Regions from separate parts of the Homo sapiens genome. Here regions 2, 3 and 4 are each linked to region 1. Evidence: promoter capture Hi-C in 16 types of primary human blood cells and fetal thymus (Javierre and others, 2016). All regions are on one chromosome and are shown on one strand. The core of a region is centred on a gene start or on the middle of the fragment in contact, and the rest is flanking DNA. Distances in the headings are between cores, read along the strand shown. Region 1 holds the start of VASP (vasodilator stimulated phosphoprotein). Region 2 holds the start of GIPR (gastric inhibitory polypeptide receptor). Region 3 overlaps FBXO46 (F-box protein 46). Region 4 overlaps QPCTL (glutaminyl-peptide cyclotransferase like).

The links. The method cuts DNA at HindIII sites, captures the fragments that hold promoters and counts their contacts. A CHiCAGO score of 5 or more calls a contact.
Region 2: a contact is called between the fragment with the promoter of GIPR here and the fragment with the promoter of VASP in region 1, in 12 of 17 cell types (naive CD4 T cells, endothelial precursors, activated CD4 T cells and 9 more). The highest score is 11.9, in naive CD4 T cells.
Region 3: a fragment that was not itself captured here is called in contact with the fragment with the promoter of VASP in region 1 in 7 of 17 cell types (naive CD4 T cells, naive CD8 T cells, non-activated CD4 T cells and 4 more); the score reaches 6.8 in naive CD4 T cells.
Region 4: a fragment that was not itself captured here is called in contact with the fragment with the promoter of VASP in region 1 in 1 of 17 cell types (total CD8 T cells); the score reaches 5.6 in total CD8 T cells.

Annotation. Positions count from the first base shown.
Region 1 is chr19:45,505,945-45,509,513 of GRCh38, reverse strand. It overlaps VASP (vasodilator stimulated phosphoprotein), which reads right to left and starts at 2,035. Exons shown (of 13, transcript NM_003370.4): 1 at 1,738-2,035. The coding sequence starts at 1,742. LOC107985314 (a long non-coding RNA gene) reads left to right here and starts at 2,140. Exons shown (of 2, transcript XR_007067269.1): 1 at 2,140-2,829. RefSeq lists silencers at 1-100, 911-1,110, 1,705-1,884, 2,565-2,694, 2,725-2,974 and enhancers at 2,035-2,304, 1,586-2,370. The HindIII fragment of the contact is 2,487 bases long and covers 784-3,270 here.
Region 2 is chr19:45,665,669-45,669,470 of GRCh38, reverse strand. It overlaps GIPR (gastric inhibitory polypeptide receptor), which reads right to left and starts at 1,250. Exons shown (of 14, transcript NM_000164.4): 1 at 1,173-1,250. RefSeq lists an enhancer at 546-825 and a silencer at 1,206-1,365. The HindIII fragment of the contact is 25,981 bases long and covers 1-3,802 here.
Region 3 is chr19:45,717,982-45,721,951 of GRCh38, reverse strand. All of the region lies in intron 1 of FBXO46 (F-box protein 46), which reads left to right. Among named protein-coding and RNA genes, the nearest start is that of FBXO46, 11 kb to the left of the region's middle. RefSeq lists enhancers at 802-1,302, 3,655-3,970. The HindIII fragment of the contact is 7,644 bases long and covers 1-3,970 here.
Region 4 is chr19:45,700,875-45,704,922 of GRCh38, reverse strand. QPCTL (glutaminyl-peptide cyclotransferase like) reads right to left here. Exons shown (of 7, transcript NM_017659.4): 6 at 3,009-3,125; 7 at 936-2,019. The coding sequence ends at 1,874. Among named protein-coding and RNA genes, the nearest start is that of QPCTL, 10 kb to the right of the region's middle. The HindIII fragment of the contact is 9,587 bases long and covers 1-4,048 here.

The sequences.
Region 1 (3,569 bases), core at 786-3,285:
GACAGGGGGCCGGCCCAGACACCGCTCCTGCCCTTTTACGGTTGCAGTGAGTGAGGCAGCACTAACTCGGACATCCGCCATCCGCCTTCCACCGAGCCTGGGACCGGAAACGCGAGGGGGGGTGGAGGGGCGGGGCTGGGGGGCAAGGGGAGAGAAGAGTCCCGGAGGAAGAGGGCGAAGGAAGAGAGCGACGCTCCCTAAACTGACCCCTCTCCAGGGCGGACTTGGAAGGGATGTTGCTATAATGGGGAGCGGATAGGCAGGAAGTCTTGAGGGTATCTGTGGGTGTCCTCCTTGCTCCAAATTTTCCAGCCATGCCTTTCACATCAGAAGGAACAAACGCGGGAGGGGGATTCTCTAGTGGTCATAAAAAGGAATGCCACGCCACTCCGATGTCAAAGGGCAGGGGTTCAGGAAATGCGGGGGATGTGGGCACCACGGGGTTAATCCCCAACCGTCCCCAGGGGCCTCCCTGCTCAGGCTGGGGGCTTTGGGGCAGGAAGTCCCAGAGAGAGTAGAGGAAGGGAGATAGTATTGTCAGGCTCTGGCCCCATGGGAGAGATTATGGGGGGCCAGGGGAGGGAAGAATAGGGGGGATGGTTGGGCCCCCCTGCCCACACTGGCCCCGCCCTCAGGTGAGCCCAGGAGTTCGGGGGAGGCCCCGGCCAGACCAAATCCCTGGGTCCCTTGGGCCGCCACCCCCAGGATTAAATTCCTGGGAAGATAGCTGGAATTATCTGGGAAGCCTGGGTCCCTAGGGAAGAGGGCTATGACCTTGAAGCTTTCCAGCTCCCCCTCCTCCAACCCCAAGGCTCCGGGTGGATAGGGGGACGGTGAGCAAAGGGGGAGGGGCCGTGGTGGGGAAGGCAGCCGGCCTACAGCGCTTGGTGCCCGCCCCCCACACCAGCTGTCTCGACAGGTGAGTCAGGAAGACAAAGGCCCCCTTCCCCCAGCTGCCGCGCCCCCTCCCTCTCCAGGGCCGCGCAGGTGGGGGAGCCGGGCCGCCCTTATGGCCGGAGGCGGGGAGCCGCCCTCTGCTCCGAGCGCCCGCTCGGTCCTAGGCACGGCCAGTTAAGCAGATTGTGTGCGGAGCGACGGGGAAGGGGGGGGTCCCACCAGACTCTGGAGGCTGCGTCCAGGTCCCTGGATCGGTTCACACCAGCCTCCTCCACAGGAAGACCTAAGTGACCCCCAAAATCCAGGGGATTAAGAAGTACCCCCGAAGTTATGGAGCGCGGTCCCACTTGGGGAGACTTTTTCCAGCACCAAGTAAACGGGGGACCTGCACACCCAGGGTCTGAGTCTCAGTCTCTCTTCCAAGTCCCAGGGTATCCCAAATCGGTCCCCCACAATCCTTCCCGGACCTCGAGCTGAAGTCTGGGGGGAGGGGGAGGAGAGTCTGAGCCCTGCCTCAATCCTGGCATCCCTGCGGGGAGTCGCTGCCAACTTTGAGGTCCTCTAAAAAAAGTCTTAACAATTCGGGAGTCCTCCGAGCGCCCCCAAATCTTGAGGGCTCCCAGGAGAACCTCACCGCCACCACCCCCCGAGCTTGGGGAGTCAGTCGTGGAGAAGTGATCGACGGTTCTGGGGCGCGTCCAAGGGGATTCAGCTCAAATCCGAGGCTCCCAAGGATCTGTCCCCAAATTCCAGCCCGGAGCTAGCTGGGGGGGAGGGGGACAAAGGCGGGGCGCGGAGCCCGCCCGGGCGGGGACGGGTCGGGGGGCAGGTCCGGCTCACCTCATGGCTGCTCGGCGGGCGGGCGGCTCGCCCACGGGCTGGCTGCTCCCGGGGCGCCCCTGGCTGGAGGTTCAGGGGTTCGGGGCTGGCTCCGGGCTCGGCTCAGGCTCCCCCAGGGTCCCGCCCCATAGAGTCCGGCTTCCTGGGGAGAATGTGGACCGGGCCGGGGCGGGTCTCCGGGCGCCGCTTCCCTCAGGCGGTCTGATGAGAGGTTCCTGCAGCAGAAAGGGGATGCAGCGTCCGCTCCCCAGCGCGCACCCCTTGCCGGTGGCGGCTACAGTGTTACTCTTACTACTGTACTTCTCTTCGTTACATTTCGTTCCAAAATTCCACTCCCCGCACCCACAATGCCCCGCGCCTTAAAGGGGCCGCGTGCGCCTCCAGGCGAGGGGGTGGAGGGCGCTTAAAAGGGCAACTCTGCACCCTCGGCTTCCGCGATCTCGCTCCTCTCCCCAATGTTGTAGCCCAGGGGTGCACCCTGGGAATCACCCCCACCTGAGGGGCAAGTTGGTGAAGGGGAAGGGGACCTCCCTTGCTTCCTAGTTCGCTCCCACTGTGGGAATTCTGAGGAGGGTCTCGGAAGGGGCGCGATTTCTTTCCCCATCGACTTCTCCATCTCGTACTCCGCTCAATTTTGGGGGTCGAGGAGGACCCTCAAGTTAAGCAAGTGGTCTCAGATTTTCTCCCTGAAATCCCATCTTCGGAACACCGCCCCTCCCCAGCGTTTCTCTTCTGTCAATTTCGGAGAGGTTACTAAGGGGGCGAGACCCCCACCCGCACGGGAGTGGAAGTCGGGGGAGTAGGGCCCAACCCCTCTCACCCCACCCCGCCCGCCCCGGGAAGGTGAGGAGGAAGTGGGCCAAGGGGGCGCGGTCGGTCGCTGACTCACAGCCGCAGGGTCGGGGGTGGGGTGGGGTGGAGGTGGGGACTGGCGAGGAGTGCGGGAGTGGGGGGCCCGGCATTCGCCCGGGGTGGGCAGGAGGCGCCGGCTTCTTTGGTGTGTAAAGCCTCCGGCCCACGCACGCCCCGCTCTGACTCAGTTTCGCCTGCGGAGGACAGCAGGATCATCCCAGCCCTCAGGAGGGCCCGGAGGTGAGGAGACCCTCCCGGGAGCCCCCGCCCCCACACGCCGGCTCCGGGCTGAGCCCAGACACCCTCTGAGGCTTCCGCAGCGTGTCTTGCCGGCCCCGCCCCGAGTGACGTCACTGATTTGGTCGCGCCCCTTGGGTAGAGCGCCACCTGGCCCGGGTGAGGCGCCCGAGCCCTGGGAAATCAGTTAGTTCCACATTTACACACGGGTAAACTGAGGCCTGGAGACAGGGAATGAATCTGGCCTATGGCCCTCTTGCCTGAGCCCCCAGAACCCGGAAAGCCACCAAGGTCTGAGTGTAAAACCAACAATTCTCAGGGCCAGCTGACTATGTGAGAGAATCCACTTTTCCAGCGTATGTCCAAGCCGAGTCCCATGTCCGGATGTTGATGTTGTCCTGACCTCCTTTACCTGGGGAGCACGTCATCCTTCCAGGCCAAGCTTTGACATTAATTCCCCTCCCCTTCTCCACCCCACTCTGGGAGACCTTGAACCCTGTTCCTCGGAGGTTATCATTGTTTCTCAGTGTGTTTCCTCAGGCTGAGTTGTCTGGGAGAATGGGTAGACTAAATTTCTTTTTTTCTTTTTTTTTTTTTGAGATGTAGTCTCTCGCTGTCACCCAGGCTGGAGGGCGCTGGCTCGATCCCCGCTTACTGCAACCTCCCCCTCCTGGGTTCAAGCAATTCTCCTGCCTCACCCTCCTAAAGTAGCTGGGATTACAGGCACGGGCCACCAAGCCCAA
Region 2 (3,802 bases), core at 1-2,500, 160 kb before region 1:
GGTCCCAGGGCAAGGTCAGCACCTCTGCCCTCCTACTCCAACCCCAGCGTCACCCCGCCTCAGGGATTCACACACAGGGGCAGACGGCTGGGGAGCCGTATACACGCGGGACTCCGAGGCAGCGCACCCGCTCCCGCAACTCCCAGGCGTGATGATCTGGGGGGAGGGAGAGGCACGCGGAGTGGGTGGAACTCCGGTGGTGGGCGGGGCCCCTTAAGTGATTCCCCGGCCTCCCCTGACTGTTGTTGGGGCAGCAAAGGTGGAAGGGGGGGGTGTTTGCTGAGCGGGCGGTTGCCCTAGAGCTACGCTGGGCGGAAGTGTCAGTGTCACCGAAGTCTGGACCTACAGACTCCTGGGAACCCGGGGACCGCCTTGGAGAGGAGGGGGTAGAAACCGTCAGCCTAGACCCCTTTTCTATGGGGAACTGAAAAACTTGAAGGTTTTCAGTACCCCCTAGTGGGGTACTTGAAACGCCCATCTGAGTTCCCACAGCCTGGTGGAGAACTTGAAACGCCCATCCGAGCTCCCACTCTCCAAGCCCAAAGGGTTTTCTAGCACACATAGGAACCTGACCTTACAAAACTTTCCCCGCTGGGGGTAGATAAAGCCCAGAGTAAGTGGAACAACCCTTTCCCAGCATCCAAATACTTAGGGACTAGAGAAGCGACAGATCCGGGGTTAGATGTGCAGATGCCTGGAAATCGGTCTAACGCCCGACACCCACTCACCCGCGCCCCCGCGGCTCCACGTAGAGAAAGACGGAAGCAGAGAGGATCTCAGGTCGAGCCTCAGAAGGACAGACAACGGCGTCACAGACACAAGAGACAGAAATGTAAAGACTGAGAGGCGCAGAGACGGAGGGACAGAATGAGACCCCCAGCCAGAGACCAGAGAAAAACAAACAGAGAAAGAGACGCAGATGTGGGCTAGGAGACAAAGAAGAGGCAGAGACGTGGAGGGAGACAGAGCAGGGGAAAGAGAAGTTATCTAGCAGCTAACCAGAGATGGAAACACGCAGACAGAGACATCAAGAGACAGAGATGAGCAGAGATGGTGGTGGGCACAGAGACAGAGAGACAAAGGCAGGGCAGAGAAGCAGAGAGGGAGAGTGCCAGAGACTTGAGAGGTCAAGGGGGGGCAGGGAGAATGGGCTGGGATTGGGGAGCCCTCACCTGTCCCCAGTCCTGCTCCTGGTCACTTGCTCCTGCAGCCCCTGCCACCGCTGCCTCCAACTGCCTTGTCTCGGCTCTGGGAGAGGTGACAGGCGCTGGCAGCCCGGGGTGATGGGAGGGGGCGGGGCCAAGGCGGGACAGGGAACGGAAGCGGGGAGCTCTGGGGCAGAGAGCCGAGCAGGGGGCAGTCATCAAGGTCATGAGGGAGGGCAGTTACTGAATTGTCCTTATCGTCCTGAGGACCCCTGCACCAAGTGTGTACAATCTCTCATGCTGTCCCACCCACAGGTACCCGCCCCCACCGCCACTCATTCCCAGAGCCTCAGTCACTCAATCAAACATGCAGTGTCACACACAATCCCATAGGCTGAGCCATGGAAAGGCACAGTCACAGAACCTCACAAGCTGTTACTCACACAGTCACACATTCAGTCACACCCATACAGTCCCATGGTCACACCCAGACAGCCACAGTCTCTCACTCACAGGTGGACAGTCATCCACTGTGACACACAGTCATGTACCCAGGGCTATGGACTCCTGCACACACACAGTAACGCTCACAGTGTCTCACAGTTCCAACAACACTGTCAATCACCCACACATTCACGCAATCACCGGGTTTCATCACAAACACTGTTGCCCTGCTAGCCTGTGTGGCCCAGGAGGGTAGAGCCAGGACATCTGGGTCACCACTGGGTCCCCAAAATCGTTAAGAGCAGGGGTTCAAGGAAGGATTGTCATGAAATAAATATACGCAGTATGCAGTTGTGTGGTTACTCGCAGACATAGAATTTTTTTTTTTTGAGACAGAGTCTTCCTCTGTTGCTGAGGCTGGAGTACAGAAGCATGATCTCAGCTCACTGCAACCTCCGCCTCCTGGGTTCAAGCAATTCTCCCACCGCAGCCTCCCAAGTAGCTGGGATTCCAGGCACACACCACCACAACCGACTAATTTTTGTATTTTTAGTAGAGACGGTGTTTCACCATGTTGCCCAGGCTGGTCTCAAACTCCTGACCTCAGGTGTTCCACATGTCTTGGCCTTCCAAAGTGGTGGGATTACAGGCGACAGCCACCACACCCGGCCCATACAATCCTTTTTACATTTTATTTATTTATTTATTTATGAGAGTGGAGTGCACTGGAACAATTATAGCTCACTGCAGCCTCCACTTCCTGGGCTCAAGGGATCCTCTTAACTCAGCCTCTTGACTAGCTGGGACTATGGGCATGAGCCACCATGCCCCACCATTTTATTAAAAAATAATTTCAACTTTTTTTTTTTTGAGACAGGGTCTCACTCTGTCACCCAGGATGGAGTGCAGTGGCGCCATCTTGGCTCACTTCAACCTCCGCCTCCAGGGTTCAGGAGATTCTCCTGCCTCAGCCTCCCGAGTAGCTGGGACTACAGGTGTGTGCCACCACACCCAGCTAAAATTTTTGTATTTTTAGTAGAGATGGGGTTTCACCATGTTGGCCATGCTGGTCTCCAACTCTTGGCCTCAAGCAATCCTCCTGCCTCGGCCTCCCAAAGTGCTGGGACTACAGGGATGTGCCATCACACCCAGCCTCAACTTTTATTTATTTATTTATTCATTTATTTTAATTCATTTTATTTATTATTTTTTCTAGACAGGGTCTCACTCTGTCACCCAGGCTGGAGTGCAGTGGCGCCAACTTGGCAACCTCTGCCTCTTGGGTTCAGGCGATTCTCATGCCTCAACCACCAGAGTAGCTGGGACTACAGGTGTATGCCACCACGCCTGGCTGATTTTTATATTTTTAGTAGAGATGAGGTTTCACCATGTTGGCCATATTGTTCTCCAACTCCTGGCCTCAAGTGATCCTCCCGCCTTGGCCTCCCAAAGTGCTGGGATTACAGGTATGAACCACCGCGCCTGGCCTTAACTTTTATTTTAGATTCAGGGGGCACATGTGCAGGTTTGTCACGGGGGTGTATTGCACGATGCGGAGGTTGGGGGTATAAATGATCCCATCATCCAGGTAGTGAGCATGGCACCCAACGGGTAGTTTTTTAACCCTTGTCTCCTTCCCTGCCCCCTCTAGGAGTCCCCAGTGTCTGTTGTTCGCATGTTGGTGTCCATGTGTACCCAGTGCTCAGCTCCCACTTATAAGTAAGAGCATCTGGTGTTTGGATTTCTGTTCCTTTGTTAATTCACTTAGGATACTGGCCTCCAGCTGCATCTGTGTTGCTGCAAAGGACTTTCCTTTCCTTTTCCTCTCCCCTCTCCCCTCTCCCCTCCCCCCTCCCTTCCTCCCTTTCTCCCTTTCTCTCTTTCTTTCTTGGGATGGAGTCTCACTCTGTCGCCCAGGCTGGAGTGCAGTGGCACGATCTCAGCTCACTGGAACCTCTGCTTCCCAGGTTCAAGCAGTTCTCCTGTCTTAGCCTCCCAAGTAGCTGGGATTACAGGCGCCCGCAACCATGCCCGGCTAATAATTTTTTTTTTTTTTTTGGCCGAGTCTCCCTCTGTAGCCCAGGCTGGAGTACAGTGGCGTGATCTTGGCTCACTGCAATCTCCACCTCCCGGGTCCTGGTTCAAGCAATTATCCTGCCTCAGCCTCCCGGGTAGCTGGGATTACAGGCACGCGCCACCATGCCCAGCTAATT
Region 3 (3,970 bases), core at 457-2,956, 210 kb before region 1:
CTCAGGAGGCTGAGGCAGGGGAGGTGGAGGTTACAGTGAGACGAGATCGTGTTACTGCACTCCAGCTTGGGCAACAGCACGACTCCATCTCAAAAAAAGAAAAAAAAAGGGTGGGGTGGTGCCGGGCGTGGTGGCTCACGCCTATAATCCCAGCACTTTGGGTGGATCACGAGGTCAGGAGACCGAGACCATCCTGGCTAACATGGTGAAACTCTACTAAAAATATAAATAATTAGCCGGGTGTGGTGGCGGGCGCCTGTAGTCCCAGCTACTTGGGAGGCTGAGGCAGGAGAATTGCTTGAACCCACGAGGCAGAGGTTCGAGTGAGCCGAGATCGTGCCACTGCACTCCAGCCTGGGTGACAGAACAAGACCCTGTCAAAAAAAAAAAAAAAAAAAGGAACAGGACCAGGAACGAAACCCTGGTGTCCTGCCACCAATTCCCATGTAACTGGGCAAGTGCCTTGTGCTGGGTGTGACCCTGGCCCTGTGATGGGGAGCGGGGTCATCTGACTAGGGGTGGGGATGGGGAAGTGGGGTGGGGTCAGACATCTACGCTTTACCATTTATCATTATTTTTCCATTCTTTCTTTCTGTTTTGGTGTTTTTGAGCCAGGGTCTCGCTTTGGCACCCAGGCTGGAGTGCAGTGGCAAAATCTCAGCTCACTGCACCCTCCACTTCCGGGCTCAAGCGATCCTCCCACTTCAGCCTCCCGAGTAGCTGTGACTGCAGGCACATGCTGGCTAATTTTTGTATTTTTAGTAGAGACGGGGTTTTGCCATGTTGCCCAGGCTGGTCTCAAATTCATTGGCTTAAGCGATCTGTCTGCCTCGGCTTCCCAAAGTGCTGGGATTACAGGCGCGAGCCACCACACGTGGCCTATTTTTCCTTATTTGTTTGGTTTATTCTGTTGTTTTTTTCCCCGCTTCACTTCTTTTTTTTTTTTTTTTTGGCTGAGAGTCTTGCTCTGTCACCCAGGCTGGAGTGCAGTGGTGCAATCTCGGCTCATTGCAGCCACGCCTCCTGGGTTCAAGCAATTCTCCGATTCTCCTGTCTCAAGCTCCTGAGTAGCTGGGATTACAGGAGCCTGCCACCACATTACAGGTGTGAGCCACTGCGCCCAGCCAGGATGATGTTTATATTGTAGTTTAGACCTTGAGCTCTGGAGTCAGCTGATCTTTGATTCTAAGTTCTGACTTGGTGTGGTTGCTCCTGCCTGTAGTCCCAGCACTTGGGGAGGCCAAGGTGGAGGATTGCTTGAGTTCAAGAGTTCAAGACTGGCCTAGGCAACATAGTGAGACCTCATCAGTACAAAAAAATGTAAAAATTAGCTGGGCGTGCTGGTATACACCTGTGGTTTCAGCTCCTCAAAAGGCTGGGATAGGCTGGGCACAGTGGCTCACACCTGTAATCCTAGCACTTTGGGAGGCTGAGGCGGGTGGATCACTTGAGGTAAGGAGTTCAAGACCAGCCTGATCAACATGGTGAAACCCTGTCTCTACTAAAAATACAAATATTAGGCCAGGTGCAGTGGCTCACGCCTGTAATCTCAACACTTTGGGAGGCCAAGGTGGGGTGGATCACCTGAGGTCAGGAGTTCGAGACCAGTCTGGCCAACATGGTGAAACTCCATCTCTACTAAAAATGAAAAAATTATCTGGACATGGTGGCGCACACCTGTAGTCCCAGCTACTTGGGAGGCTTAGGCAAGCAAATCGCTTGAACCGGGAGGCAGAGGTTGCAGTGATTGCAGTGAGCCGAGATCGCACCGTTACACTCCAGCCTGGGCAACAGAGCAAGACTCCGTCTTAAAAAAAAAAACAAAAAAGAAGGCAGCTGAGATGGGAGGATCACTTGAGCCCAGGAGATTGAGGCTGCGTTGAGGCGAGATTGCACTCCAGCCTGGGTGACAGTGAGACCATCTCAGAAAACAACAAAAAACAAAACACACACTCACAAAAACAGAGTTCTGCTACAAAGCTATAAATGAGGGCAATTACTTAGCCATTCTCTGCCTCAGTTTCCTTATCTTCAACACGAAATTAAAAATAGGAGATAGAAGAATCAAACAAGTTCATATTTGTAGAGTGCTCGAGTATTGACTGCTGTTGTGATTATCATTTTCTAATATATTCATGTTGGTTCTGACTGTTTGTTTGGATGTCTGACCCCTTTCCCATGAGCCATTCCTGGGGAGCTCAGTGTCACCTGTGTGTTCCAGCGCCCAACAATGGCCAGCATGCAGGACCACAGTGAATGTCAGAGACAAGTTTTTGCAAATGCACCATGTATGTATGTATGCTAGGGATGTAAATATGTGGATTATTTAATTGTTGGGGGCATTCAACCAAGGGTGTAGATTGAGTGGTTCAGGTCCTTACTAATTTTCCCAAGCAGTCTTTTCTTAGAAATATGTTGTTTTCCCATATCAATTGTGGATTTAACAAACTTTCCCTTGTCATTTGTAAGTTTATGGCTGTCATGTGTAGAGATGGTCGTTTTTTGCTTTATCTATTTGGAAGCCATAGTATTTGGATCATGTATGTTGAGAACTTTTGTGTATAATGGGTCACTTCCACCTCCCTCCCCCAGCCCTAGGGACTCATGTAGAGAAGTAAATAATTGGTCATTTTGTTTCGTCATCATCCATTGCTTTTGTCAGTTTATTTATTTTTTATTTATTTAATTTATTTTTAATTTAATTTAAGACAGTCTCGTGCTGTCACCCAGAGTGGAGTGCAGTGGCCTGATCTGAGCTCACTGCAGCCTCTACCTCCTGGGCTCAAGCAATCCTCCCACCTCAGCCTCCTGAGTACTTGGGACTACAGGCACGTGCCACCACACCCTGCTAATTTGTGTATTTTTTGTAGTGATGGGGTTTCACCATGTTGCCCAGGCTGGTCGCAGACTCCTGAGCTCAAGGGATTGTGTCCCCCCTCTGCCTCCCAAAGTGCTGGGATTACAGGTGTGAGCCACCGTGCCTGGCCAAGTTTTTTTTTTTTTTTTTTTAAGGGGTAATGTTACTCCTCTACTTGTCTCTTGGTTCGTGTTTTCCCAGCCAGTTTTTTGCCGTCTTTTGATTTTCCATATTTTTGGTTCACAATGTTTTACAATGAATAGATTTTCATGGAGTAGTTGCTGAAGGCTGACCTAGTGTAGGGCCTTATGCTGGGCTCAGTGTGGGGGAGTTAGAAGATCCTGTCTCAGGCCTGGAGAGAGACCCACCCCAGACGATGACCCAGAGTAGGCAGGGAAGAGGGAACCCAGAGGTCCCCTCTGGGCAGGTGGGTGATTTCCAGGAAGGGAGTTGGAGAAGGCCTCTCTAATAAAACTGCATTTGAACACAGACCTGAATGAAGTAAGGAATTGAGCCTTGCAGAGGGGGAATGTATTGCAGTTGGTGGGAACAGCAAATGCAGAGACCAGGGAAGGCAAGAGCCCGGTAACTTTGAGGAATAGACAGCAATGAGCCCACCGCATGGACGCCCTGGGTGAAGCCTGACCTGGCCTAGGGGGATTGGGGGTGTCAGCTTCTTAGAGGAGGGGTGGTCGAGCTGAAACCCCAGGGAATATATAGTGAAACAGTAGGGCACAGTGACTAGGAAATCAGATTCCCTGGCTTCATATCCCTGCTCCAGCTCACACTCCAGCTCTGTGTGACCTTGTGGTCAGGAGACCTGCCCTGCGTCAGTTTCTTCATCCATACCGTGGAGACGATCACTCCTACCGGGGATCAGATGGGTCCTGAGTATTCTATGTATGCCAGATCAGGTGCCCACCAGGGTGCACTGGGGTATTGCCTGCGGGGCGGAGGAGTGGGGAGGGATGCGACTGGACAGGTGGGGTACCTGGGTGTTTTCCAGAGGGCACTGGGGAGCCATGGCAGGTTCTCACCAGGATAGGGACGGGTTCAGGTTTATAGGACTGTGCTTTAACAGGACTTTTCTGGCTGCTCTTTTGTACTAAGTGA
Region 4 (4,048 bases), core at 814-3,313, 200 kb before region 1:
ACAGGCTCATGCCACCACACCTGGCTAATTTTTGTATTTTTAGTAGAGATGGGGTTTCATCATGTTGTCCAGGCTGCTCTCGAACTCCTGAGCTCAGCTGAACTGCTGGCCTCGGCCTCCCAAAGTGCTGGGATTTCAGGTGTGACCCACCATGCCCGGCCGAAGTATCCTAGTTCTATGAAGTGCTTCCCAATAAAAAGTGTTCCATAGTGAAATACTTTGGGAGCCTCTGGGTTCTGTCTTAAAAATTCACATGATGCAGTGAGGAAACTCATTTTATGTTGTCTCACCCTCTTCTTGGATTTCAGATCCCCCTTGTCATGCAATGTCTATTTACACGAGTTCTACAGAATGGCCTTTTTTGTTGTTGTTGGTGGTGGTGGTGTTTGTTTTGAGACAGGGTGTCACTGTGTTGCCCAGGCTGGTCTTGAACTCTTGGGTTCATGGGATTCTCTCACCTCAGCCTCCTGAATAGCTGAGACTACAGGGTGTGCACCACCACACCTGGCTTATGCAGGTGGTGTTTTGCAGAAACATTGGTTACGCTTTTTTTTTTCTTTCTTTTTTCTGGAGAATGGGGTCATGCTCTGTTGCCCAGGCTGGTCTCAAACTCCTGAGCTCAAGCTATCCCTCTGCCTCTGACTCCCAAAGAGCTGGGATTACAGGTGTGAACCACCATGCCCAGCCAGAAACAATGGCTTATTACCCACTGGGTCTGGAAGAATCTGGACTTCCAAAATATGAGCTTCTGTCTCCTCTGTGCCTGGTTATGAGGACATCCTCTGTGTGCCCCGTGTGGGAGTTAGGTTAGGACTGGTGCAGTAGCAAGGCTGCTGTTCTGGAGAATGAACTGACACAACACAAACCACAGAGAATTCATCTAGCTGGGTGGCATCACTGGGCCAGACCAGTAATAGTCTTTTAGTCTTTTACTCTTTTTAAAAAATATTTATTTATTTATTTATTTATTGAGATGGAGTCTCGCTCTGTTGCCCAGGCTGGAGTGCAGTGGTGTGATCTTGGCTCACTGCAACCTCCGCCTCCTGCGTACAAGTGATTCTCCTGCCTCAGCCTCCCAAGCAGCTGAGATTACAGGCGCCCACCACCATGCCCAGCTAATTATTGTATTTTTAGTAGAGACAGGGTTTCGCCATGTTGACCAGGCTGGTCTCAAACTCCTGACCTCGGGTGATCCTTCCCCCTCAGCCTCTCAAAGTGTTGGGATTACAGGTGTGAGCCACCACACCCAGCAGTCTTTTACTTTTTCAGTTCGCTGACTTAAAGAACAGCATTTTGCCAGGTGCGGTGGCTCACACCTGTAATCCCAGCACTTTGGGAGGCCGAGGCTGGCGGATTACAAGGTCAGGAGATCGAGACCATCCTGGCTAACACGGTGAAACCCCGTCTCTACTAAAAATACAAAAAATTAGCCAGCGTGGTGGCGGGCACCTGTAGTCCCAGCTACTTGGGAGGCTGAGGCAGGAGAATGGCGTGAACCCAGGAGGCGGAGTTTGCAGTGAGCCGAGATCGCACCACTGCACTCCAGCCTGGGCAACACAGTGAGACTCCGTCTCAAAAAAAAAAAGAACAGTATTTGGTCCCTGCAAACCTTTGGACCAAGTGTTTACCTCTGGGGAGGGAGCAAGTTCTTATTCCTCTGGCTGTCATCCCACAGTGGTCTCTTCCCTGTCCTTGAAGGGTGGCAGCTTGAGACAATCAAAAGAAAGAAGGTCTTCCAATTGTAGCACAATTAGGAGACAAAGGTATGAAAAGGACAAACCAGCACACCCTAGGCAGATCCTGCCTGAGCTTCACTGGCCCCCGCTGGGACCTTCTCTCTCACAGTCCTCTCCACAGTCATTGGCCAAGCACGCTAGAGCCCCAGGTATTCAGCCAGGAACACAGCGAGAATGCGGCACAAGTTGTGTACCGTGGGTGGGTGGAGATTGACCTCGGTGTCCGCAGGGGTGTGCCAGACAGCAGGGAAGGGCGTGGAGATGAGATGGAGCACGGGTACCCCTGAAGTGACAGAGGAGACTTTGTCAGGTCCACTGCAGCCCACCACAACCCAGGAGCCCAAGCCCAACCTCTAGGTAACCTTGCCTTGCCACCACACACTGGTGAAAGATACTATGTTCTGGCACTTTTTTTTTTTTTTTGAGACAGAGTCTCACTCTGTCGCCCAGGCTGGAGTGCAGTGGCGTGATCTCGGCTCACTGCAGCCTCTGCCTCCCAGGTTCCAGCGATTCTACCGTCTTAGCCTCCCGGGTAGCTGGGATTATAGGCAGGCACCACGACACCTGTCTAATTTTTGTATTTTTAGTAGAGATGGGGTTTCATCATGTTGGCCAGGCTGGTCTCAAACTACTGACCTCAGGTGATCTGCCCGCCTCAGGCTCCCAACGTGCTAGGATTACAGGTGTGAGCCACCATGCCCAGCCTGGCACTTTTTTTTTTTTTGAGATATCATCACCCTCTGTTGTCCAGGCTAGAGTGCAGTGGCTCAATCAAGGCTTACTGCAGCCTTGACTTCCCAGGCCCAAGTGCTCCTCCCACTTCAGCCTCTCGAGTAGCTGGGACTATAGGTGTGAACCACCATGCCCGGCTAATTTTTTTGTATTTTTAGTAAAGACAAGATTTATGCCATGTTGCCCAGGCTGGTTTCAAACTCCTGGGCTCAAGGATCCCCCCCCGCCACCCCGCTCAGCCTCCCAAAGTGCTGGGATTACAGCTGTGAACCACCGTGCCCAGCTGCAAACATTTCTGGAATGCTTGCTATGTGCTGGGTGCTGGTCCAAGTAAGGTCTTTACCGGTGTTAGCATGTTCAATCCCCTCAACAATACTCTAAGATAGGGAGTATTATCCCCATTTTACAGATGAATAAATCAAAGCACAAAGAGGTTAAGGCCACTTAGCACCATTCCCCAGCCCTGGGAAGGGGACTTGGCCAGTTCCAATTTGTGGCTTCCTTGGACACCCACCCTCCATCCCTCCCTGCAGCTGGTACCTCTGCGGAGGAAGGGGATGTGGTCGTCTTCCACAGAGCCAAAGGGCTCCCCGGGTTGGAAGTACATCACTTCCTGGGGATGAGACTGCAGCAGGTTCAAACGGTGCAGACGCTTCTCTGGAAGTGGGGGCGATTAGAGAGGAAGGGTTAGTCCTTAGTAGTCGAAGGTCCCCAGTCCACAAATCAGAGGAAGGCAGAGCACCCAGAGACAAAGCCCTGGTCAGCCCAACAAGAGTGAATGCCAGTTACTCCTTCCTGTGGGCTCACTATGTTCCTGGTCTCATTCAATCCCTCAGAGTCTAAGACATAGACATTCTTTTTTTTGAGACAAGATCTTGTGGCCTGGTGTGGTGGCTCATGCCTGTAATCCCAGCACTTAGGGAGACCAAGGCAGGTGGATCACCTGAGGTCAGGAGTTCGAAACCAGCTTGGCCAACATGGTGAAACCCTGTCTCTACTAAAAATACAAAAATTAGCTGGGTGTGGTGGTGGGCGCCTGTAATCCCAGCTACTTGGGAGGCTGAGGCAGGAGAATTGCTTGAACCTGGGAGGTGGAGGTTGCAGTGAGCTGAGATTGCACCACTGCACTCCAGCCTGGGTGACAGAGTAAGATTCTGTCTCCAAAAAAAAAAAAAAAGATCTTGCTCTCTCACCCACACTGGAGTGCAGTGGGACAATCCCAGCTCAGTGCAGCCTTAATCTCGCTGGCCTAAGTGATCCTTCAGTCTCAGCCTCCCAAATAGCTAGGACTTCAGGCGCATGCCCCCATGCCTGGGTAATTGTGTGTGTGTGTGTGTGTGCGCGTGTGTGTAGAAATGGGATCTTCCTGTGTTGCCCGGGCTGGCCTCAAACTTCTGGGTTCATGTGATCTTCCTGCCTTGGTCACTCAAATTTCTGGGACTACAGGCATGAGCCACTATGTCTGGGCCCTCCGGCCTTTTTTTTTTTTTTTTTTTTGAGACAGAGTCTTGCTCTGTCGCCAGGCTGGAGTGCAGTAGCACAATCTCGGCTCACTGCAACCTCCGCCTCCCGGGTTCAAG